Linked DNA regions of Homo sapiens: region 2 is linked to region 1. The links are contacts of gene promoters, found by promoter capture Hi-C in blood cells and fetal thymus (Javierre and others, 2016). All regions are on one chromosome and are shown on one strand. Each heading gives the region's core, a stretch centred on a gene start or on the middle of the fragment in contact. The rest is flanking DNA. Distances are from core to core; before and after follow the strand shown.

Region 1 (4,368 bases), core at 749-3,248:
GAGGCGATGAGGTCATGCCGGACACTGCCTGCCACTATGTTTAGAGCAGCTCCAGTGACTCTGGGCTCTCGGGGGTGGCAGAGGACCAAGCAGGGCCCCCAGGGAACTGCAAATCCTTCCCCACGTGTGAGGGCTACTGCAGAGGACCCCGAGGACCTCTTTCCCAGGCCGCAGTGACCAGCCACTGCCCAGGCTGAGCCAGGCCCTGGTGACCCCTGACTGCAACCCTAAGGTTGTGAGTAGAGAGAGCTTCCGCCAAGTGGTAGCCCTTTGGGGTCTTCGCACGGCTCCCCACCCCCCCTGCACCCTCCTGCCAGCTGCCCAGGAGGCCCACCCACACTGAGACTCGGCCAAGGGTCCAGCCACCCATACTGAGATTAAAGGAGGACTAGCAGCATCCGGCAGAGGCCTGTGAGCCCCTCCATCCCTGTGGCCACAACCCTGCCTGCCTCCCCAGAAAAGCCAGGGGCCGCACCTCCTGGTGCCCCACGGGCCCCCCATTAGCCAGCACTGGCTCAGTGTCTGTGAACGAGGTGCTAGGCCCGTGGGGCAAACTGGAGGGACGGGAGATCTGGAGACCAGACTGGGAGACCCAGCCCCGTATGCTGGGACGATGGGCGTCGAGACAGACTGTGATGTGGGGCTTTGGGGAGGGCTGGACACCGACCGCGACAGCCCTCGGTGGGAGTGCCCCTGTGGGGGTGCTGGCCTCAGGGCAGGAGTGCCCCTGGGGACAGTTCAGGAACAGCCTCTAAGGGGCACTGCAAGGCCCACGTGGGGCCCACCCCATTCATAACACAGGCTGGATGTGGCCTAGCGAGGCTGGCAGGGACAGAGAACCAAGAGCTTCTGGCCACACAGGCTCAGGGTCACAAGACCTGTGGCCTCTACCCATGGGGCTCCCGGCATAGTGTGGCGGGGGGAGCTGGGGAGCCTCCAGGCTATGAGGAGATGTGCCGCGAGGTGGCGAGATTCTGACCCTGCCTGGAGGGCTGCTGGGGACACCCAACCCTTCTCCAGTAGAACCATGCGTGGCAGTGGGAGGGGAGGACCTCCAGAGGGAGACCCTCAGCTCTGGAGCCCAGATCCCCTCCTGATGGAGTAGGAAGGGGACAGTGAAAATTCAGGAAGCTGGACGCTCCTCCGGAACCCGCCCCCGCCCAGGTCAGAGGGTCCAGGGAGGGGCCAGTGGGAAGGACCCAGGTAGGCCCTGCCTCTTGCTGCAGCGGTGGCCTGGGCTGGGCAGGGGAGCCAGCAAGCCACTGAGGGTCCCAGCCCCTTCCCCAAGGGCCCTTGGGGGGCAGGGAGGACGCCACAGCCTCTGCGTCCCTGCTCCCCCTTCTCTTTGTGGGCTCCGTCCAGGGCCTCTGCTCTCTCCCTCCCTGTGTCAGCTTTGCCTTGTGCCAGAGTTGGTTTGGGAGTGAGGACAGAAGACCATCTTGTCCCATAAAGGCACTCAAAGTCCCTGGTGCTGACGGTTACACATGGGTGTAGAGTTTCCAGCATGGGCGCCCCTGGGGACTCAGAGCGCCTCCCCAAAGACGGGGCCTTTTCTGAAGGCGCTGCACTCCAGGAAGGACTTACCGGCTGTTGGGAAGGCAGCCTCCCCAGAACTTGGTGTGAAAAAGGGCCCTCTCCTCCCCATGGAGCCTCCCAGCGGGGGGCGGGGAACGGCAACCAGCGGGACACTGCCGCCCTCCCCCAGTTACTGCCCGGGGGTCCGACTCCGTGGGTGGGTGGCAGCTCGCCTCCGAAAGTCTGGCAGCACCGGCCCTCATCAGCAGCCCTTTCTTTCCCACCCGGGGGGTCTCTCCTTCTGAGAGGTCGCGGGGGAGGTGGGGGGGCTGTGCGCGGGGGAGGCCTCAGCGGAATCCCGCCCGGCCTGAGAAGAAAGGGAGCCCCCGGGGAGGAGGCGGCCCCGACCCGCCCCCGCCCGCCCGCCCCGCCGCCGATTGGCCCTGAGCCGCTATATCTGGGCGCCCGCCCGGCCCGAGGCCACCGCCGTCCCCACCGCCATCCGCCCTCCCGGCCTGGCCTGCCCTTGCGCCCGGCTCCCCAGTGCCCGCCGCCCGCCCGCCGCGCTCCCGCGCTCCGTTCCGCCCAGGCCGCGCCCAGCTGGAATGCAGAGATCGCCGCCCGGCTACGGCGCACAGGACGACCCGCCCGCCCGCCGCGACTGTGCATGGGCCCCGGGACACGGGGCCGCCGCTGACACGCGCGGCCTCGCCGCCGGCCCCGCCGCCCTCGCCGCGCCCGCCGCGCCCGCCTCGCCGCCCAGCCCGCAGCGCAGTCCCCCGCGCAGCCCCGAGCCGGGGCGCTATGGCCTCAGCCCGGCCGGCCGCGGGGAACGCCAGGCGGCAGACGAGTCGCGCATCCGGCGGCCCATGAACGCCTTCATGGTGTGGGCAAAGGACGAGCGCAAGCGGCTGGCTCAGCAGAACCCGGACCTGCACAACGCGGTGCTCAGCAAGATGCTGGGTGAGCGGCGGGAGGGCGGCAGAGAAGGGGGAGAGGGCGGGGGGGGCTCGGGCCGGGGTGGGGCGGGGGGGGCAGGGGTCCCGGGCCGCGGGGTGCGGGGGCTGCGCCAAACCCTCGCGGGGCGTCCCGGGCGCACGGAGGGCTCGGCGCCCACCCGCCCGACGGCGTTCCACTCACTGGCGCCCACGGCCCGCAGGCAAAGCGTGGAAGGAGCTGAACGCGGCGGAGAAGCGGCCCTTCGTGGAGGAAGCCGAACGGCTGCGCGTGCAGCACTTGCGCGACCACCCCAACTACAAGTACCGGCCGCGCCGCAAGAAGCAGGCGCGCAAGGCCCGGCGGCTGGAGCCCGGCCTCCTGCTCCCGGGATTAGCGCCCCCGCAGCCACCGCCCGAGCCTTTCCCCGCGGCGTCTGGCTCGGCTCGCGCCTTCCGCGAGCTGCCCCCGCTGGGCGCCGAGTTCGACGGCCTGGGGCTGCCCACGCCCGAGCGCTCGCCTCTGGACGGCCTGGAGCCCGGCGAGGCTGCCTTCTTCCCACCGCCCGCGGCGCCCGAGGACTGCGCGCTGCGGCCCTTCCGCGCGCCCTACGCGCCCACCGAGTTGTCGCGGGACCCCGGCGGTTGCTACGGGGCTCCCCTGGCGGAGGCGCTCAGGACCGCGCCCCCCGCGGCGCCGCTCGCTGGCCTGTACTACGGCACCCTGGGCACGCCCGGCCCGTACCCCGGCCCGCTGTCGCCGCCGCCCGAGGCCCCGCCGCTGGAGAGCGCCGAGCCGCTGGGGCCCGCCGCCGATCTGTGGGCCGACGTGGACCTCACCGAGTTCGACCAGTACCTCAACTGCAGCCGGACTCGGCCCGACGCCCCCGGGCTCCCGTACCACGTGGCACTGGCCAAACTGGGCCCGCGCGCCATGTCCTGCCCAGAGGAGAGCAGCCTGATCTCCGCGCTGTCGGACGCCAGCAGCGCGGTCTATTACAGCGCGTGCATCTCCGGCTAGGCCGCCGGCGCCGCCCGGGTCCCTGCAGCGCTTCCTCCCGCAGCCCCCGCGACCGATCCGACCGCGTCGCTGCCGCTCTGCTCTCTCATACGCGTGTATGTTTGGTTCCATGTCACAGCCCCCTAGGAGCCAGTGATGCTCGGCCTTGCGCCCGTTCCACCTCCCAGGCCACCCTTCCTGGGCTTCTGGGCCACCTGCCCTCGGGGGGCCCCTGCGAGGGTGCCTGGAGTTCCCACGTGTCCCGGGGCTTTTCCAGGAAGCCCGAGCCCAGGACCTGTTGGCAGAGTTGCCAGGGTTACATTTTTGAAGCACCTGCTCCTTTTCTTGCAGTGTATTTTCTACAACCAGATTGTATTAATATTTTTTACTTTGCCCTTTTAAAAAATATACCTAATACAATATATTTAATTTTTAATTAAACTCTTAAACTTTTCTTCCAAGAAGTTTCAGTGATCAGAAGCGTCACTGTGGCAAAGACTTTTGCAATGTGAGGAATACAGATGTTTGCTTTCTATAAAGGAGGAGCCTGGAGCTGGGTCCCCGGACGGAGAGGCCACAATAAATCCTCGGGCCTTTCCTCTGCACACTGACATCTGTGGTGTTTGCAGGGAGGGAAAAGCAGTTCCCCAAATAGCCCTGGACGCCCCTTCCCTCCGAATCGCCCCCAGGGAGCCTGACTCCTAGCTTGAACCTCATAGCACTCCTTCATCCTTCCGTGACACATCCCAGAGAGCGTGGGTAGCAGGCATGGGTCCACACTCCCCCCCAGCCCTCCACTCCCCTCCTGTCCCACCCCCAGGTTAACTCAAGCCTATCGGAGGTCAGACTATACCAGCAATCCTGTCACACCCCCGCTAGGGTTTCATCGCCCTTGCCTCCACCTTAAAACTTCCATGC
Region 2 (4,368 bases), core at 698-3,197, 540 kb after region 1:
ACACTGATCCATGAATCATCCACGAATGCTAAGTCCAGAGATGGATTCTGATGAGGGACAGGACATTTACCTAACCCAAAGTGAGACAGGACTACGACAGGGTGGCCGCAGGAGAACAGATGATTCCAGGTAGCAGTTTCATGGCTATCAAAAGAGAGCTGTTGAAAAAGCTGCAGAGGCCAGGGGGTGACCAGACACTGAAGACCAGGACATGGGCCAAGCTGGCCGAGACGACTGGACCCACTGGGCCGACCTGGGCCGAGACGACTGGACCCACTGGGCTGAGCTGGGCCGAGACGACTGGACCCACTGGGCCGAGCTGGGCCAAGAGGACTGGACCCACTGGGCCACGCTGAGCCGAGACAACTGGACCCACTGGGCCACGCTGGCCGAGACGACTGGACCCACTGGGCCGAGCTGAGCCGAGACGACTGGACCCACTGGGCCGAGCTGGACAAGATGACTGGACCCACTGGGCCACGCTGGCCGAGACGACTGGACCCACTGGGCCGAGCTGGGCCGAGACTACTGGACCCACTGGGCCGAGCTGGACAAGATGACTGGACCCACTGGGCCACGCTGGCCGAGACGACTGGACCCACATGGCAGCGGACTTGACCTGGGTTTCACCGGTGACCTAATTATATGCTCATCAACACACAAATCACACTCGGCAGTGCCATGACAGTTCCAGGAACACACATATTTGGTGTAAAAAAGGGTGGCACCACAGTTCCTAGAAATCTTCACCTTTTTCCAGAAATCTTTATGAATATTCCACTCCTTGGTTAAAGAAACCCATTAAAGGTAGGGGCCCCAAACCCTGCCTCACGACTCACTTTCTTGAGAACACCCATACTCCCCTTTCTTCTTTGACTTTTTTTTCTATTTGCTTGTTTATTTTTATGAGGCAGGGTCTCACTATGTTGCCCAGGCTGATCTCGAACTCCTGCCTCAGCCTCCCAATGTGTTAGGATTACAGGCGTGAGCCTTCACACCCAGCCACACTCTGCTTTCTGGAGGGTGTACTTTTTGCTTTGCAATAAATCTCTACTTTCATTATTTTTTAACTCATCCTTGAATTCGTTTTGTGATGGTGTTAAGAGGCAGGACACTGGCCTGGGTCAAGGTCCCATTCGCATTTGGGGACCTCCCCTGGCCACCAGTATCAAAAGTACTTCCTTGTTAATTTTCAGGGTTTTTTTTGAGACAGATTCTCACTCACTCTGTCACCCAGGCTGGAGTGCAGTGGCATGATCTTGGCTACTGCAACCTCTGCCTCCCGGGATCCAGCGATTCTCGTGACTCAGCCTCCTGAGTAGCTGGGAATACCGGCATGTGCCACCATACCTGGCTAATTTTTGAATTTTTAGTAGGGATGGGGTTTCACCATTTTGGCCGGGCTGGTCTTGAACTCCTGGGCTCAAGTGATCCACCCGCCTTGGCCTCCCAAAGTGCTGGGATTACAGGTGTCAGCCACCGTGCCCGGCTTACTTATCAGTTACAAAGGGCAAAGTGGTAACTTTACTGTGAGAAGCTTGTGGATGCCAGTTTAACCAGAGGATCAAAGGTACCGTTGCCGCTGGTGGGCAGCCAGCGTCCCGAGTGCTGGGAAGGATGCCTGGCTCTTGGTGCCAATCTGTTCATGCAGAAATGTCAGGAACGCTCAATGCGGGGACAATCTACAAAACAACCGGTTTGCATTCTTCAAAAGTTTCAGTGTCATAAAAGATTTTTAAAAAGACAGGCCCAATGTATATACCGTGAAAATAGTAAAACAATAAAATATAAAAGTAAAAAGACTGAAGTAACCTTGTCTTTGTATTGATGTGGAGTCAACCGCTGCTTCCAGTTGCGGGGGAGTAGCTGCTGCCAGGTACGTCTCCCTCCAGAAACGACTCTGAGACCAGACAAAATTCGTGCGCTGCTCTCTTCAGGCAGTGGGGTGAGGACAGCACAAGACCGAGAGGGTGCTTGGAGGCGCCCACACTCCCGGCTCTCCTTGGCCATAACCCCACAAGCAGGGCTCCAGGCAGAGCACGGCAGTCCCCCTGGGATGAGAGGCAGAGACTGGAGTGAGGGGCTTAGGTGTGCATGTTGCTGGTGGGGAGTGCTTGGGACCTCTGCAAGCCTGTGGCTGAGGGTGAGGAGGTGCCGGAGGCTCACCAGAGAGCAGTGACTATAGGCCCTGTGCTGTTATCCGTCACTGCATAACCAATCAACACCGATTTAGTAGCTTTAAAAAACATGCATTTATTCTCAGTTTTGGGGGGTCAGGAGCCCACACACAATTCCGCTGGGTGGCTCGGGGTTTCAAGAGTGCCACCAAGGTGTTGGTATTTCTTTCTGAAGCTTGAGGTCCTCTTTGAAGGCCACGTGGTTGTTGGCAGAATTCAGTTCCTTGTGGCTGTAGGACTGAGGTCCCTGCTTTCTTGTTGGCTGGCAGCCTGGGGCCACTCACTGGTTCCCTGATACGAGGCCCCTCCCATGCCTTCCAACAGCCATATCTTCACAGACAGCAGGGGTGTCTTGCTGCTCCGTCCCCCAGGACAGAGCCTGGAATGATGCAGCCAATCACAGAGTGACTTATCACCTTTCTGTGTTCTATGGGCTGGACACAAACCGTAGTGTTTCTCGGAGGAAAGTACTCAAGGCTGCGACTCACCAGGGATTACCTGAGGTTGTATCCACCCAGGTTAGAGCAGAACAAAGATAGTAGAGGACAAGCTGTGTCGGGCAGTATTTTGGCATTTGGCATTTGGACCTGGCCAGAGTGGAGAGACTTGGGCGGCATTGGCATTTGGCATTTGGACCTGGCTAGAGTGGAGAGACCTTACTTTTTTTTTTTTTTTTTGAGGAGAAAGGACTACAATGTACAATAATGCCTACTCCACACTCACCTAACGAAAGTTCAGACCAAGCCCCACAGAGATCTGCAGGGGAGACTGAGATTGAGGGTTGAGTCTTACCAAGGTAGCAGGACTTGGGAAACACTTTGGGCTTTCGACATCGACACTGACAAAGCATGAGAACAAGTCCACAGGGCCCAGCAGTGAACCAACCTGCAAAGCAAACACCGACAGCTTCAGAGGAGGAAGCAGAGTAGACTCTCCACATGATGTTCAGTATTCAGTCAAAAATCACTAGACACACGAAGAAACAGGACAATGCAACCCACGCTCAAGGGGTAAAAGCCAATTATCAATTGATTTATTTCCAGCTGCAAATTCACCCTTTATTGCCTTCCTCAAAAAAGTGAATCTCAGCTGGGTGCAGTGGTTCGCGTCTGTAATCCCAGGGCTTTGGGAGACGAAGGCGGGTGGATCACTTGAGCCCATGAGTTGGAGACCAGCCTAGGCAACATGGCAAGACCCTATCTCTATAAAAAATACAAAAATTAGCTGGGCGTGGTGGTGTGTACCTGTAGTCCCAAATACTTGGGAGGCTGAGGTGGGAGGATCGCTTGAGCCTGGGAGGCCGAAGCTGTGGTGAACCATGATTGTGCCACTACTCTACAGCCTGGGGGACAGAGTGAGACCCTGTCTCAGAAAAAAAGAAAAGAAAAAAAATGAATCTGCCCAGTGTAAAGGAGAAATGCTTAAAGTAATTCTGTCCACTGCTGTGGAGCAGGTATTGAAGGTTAAATTTCGAGCCAAAAGACAATAAACTAGTGGTTGGCATAATGCACCTATCATGTGGCTGAAACATCCTGGGGTGTGTACTGAGCAGGTACACCCGCACAAGAGAGACGCACACAAGTGTTCGTAGCAGCTTTATTTGTAGTCGTTCAGAACTGGAAGTGGAATGCAGTACAGTGATGAAAATGAACAAATGCCTGCTGCACGGGACGGCATGGAGGCATCTCACAGACACGGTCGTGTGTGAAAGAAGCCACACAAAAGGATACACACTGTGCATTGTGTTCCCTTTATATAAAGTTTAAAAACAGGCAAACGTGATCTGTGCTGTCAGAAGTCACCTTTACCGAGGGGCAGGAGGGAATGTTGTTTCTTGGTCTGGGTGTGTTTTCCTGGTGATAACTCATCAGGCACATTTGCAGTGTGTCACTTTTCTCTATGTATGCTCAAAGTCACGTCTTTAAAAAGGCAGACGTCCCCTCTGTGTTCTCCCTGCCCTTCCTCCTGCCCTGGCCCAGCTGCTCGGTTCCTGGCCGTGTGGGGAGGTCCCTCCAGGGGTGGGGAGGCTCTGAATCTCTGTGGGAGGCGATGGTGGGCGGCAGCCCCTGGGAGGCTCATCCCCAGGGTGCAGGCAGGGTCCTGTTATTCCCTTCATAAGATTCCCAGCTGCCTAATTGAGGGAAGGGCTATTCAAAGAGGTGAAAACAGGGCCTCCAGAGCTGCTAATGAA

Evidence for each region. Contacts are between HindIII fragments. The CHiCAGO score rates a contact against its expected background, and 5 or more counts as called.
Region 2: a fragment that was not itself captured here is called in contact with the fragment with the promoter of SOX18 in region 1 in 2 of 17 cell types (monocytes and naive B cells); the score reaches 5.7 in monocytes.

What each region holds. Positions count from the first base shown.
Region 1 is chr20:64,047,269-64,051,636 of GRCh38, reverse strand. It overlaps SOX18 (SRY-box transcription factor 18), which reads left to right and starts at 1,998. Exons shown (of 2, transcript NM_018419.3): 1 at 1,998-2,478; 2 at 2,675-4,055. The coding sequence starts at 2,121. The coding sequence ends at 3,471. RefSeq lists promoters at 1,858-2,118, 1,221-2,118, 1,013-2,121, an enhancer at 1,446-2,127 and a silencer at 2,259-2,308. The HindIII fragment of the contact is 12,409 bases long and covers 1-4,368 here.
Region 2 is chr20:63,503,598-63,507,965 of GRCh38, reverse strand. LOC105372725 (a long non-coding RNA gene) reads right to left here. Exons shown (of 3, transcript XR_937004.3): 2 at 2,970-3,062; 3 at 2,234-2,611. Among named protein-coding and RNA genes, the nearest start is that of EEF1A2, 6.7 kb to the right of the region's middle. The HindIII fragment of the contact is 815 bases long and covers 1,540-2,354 here.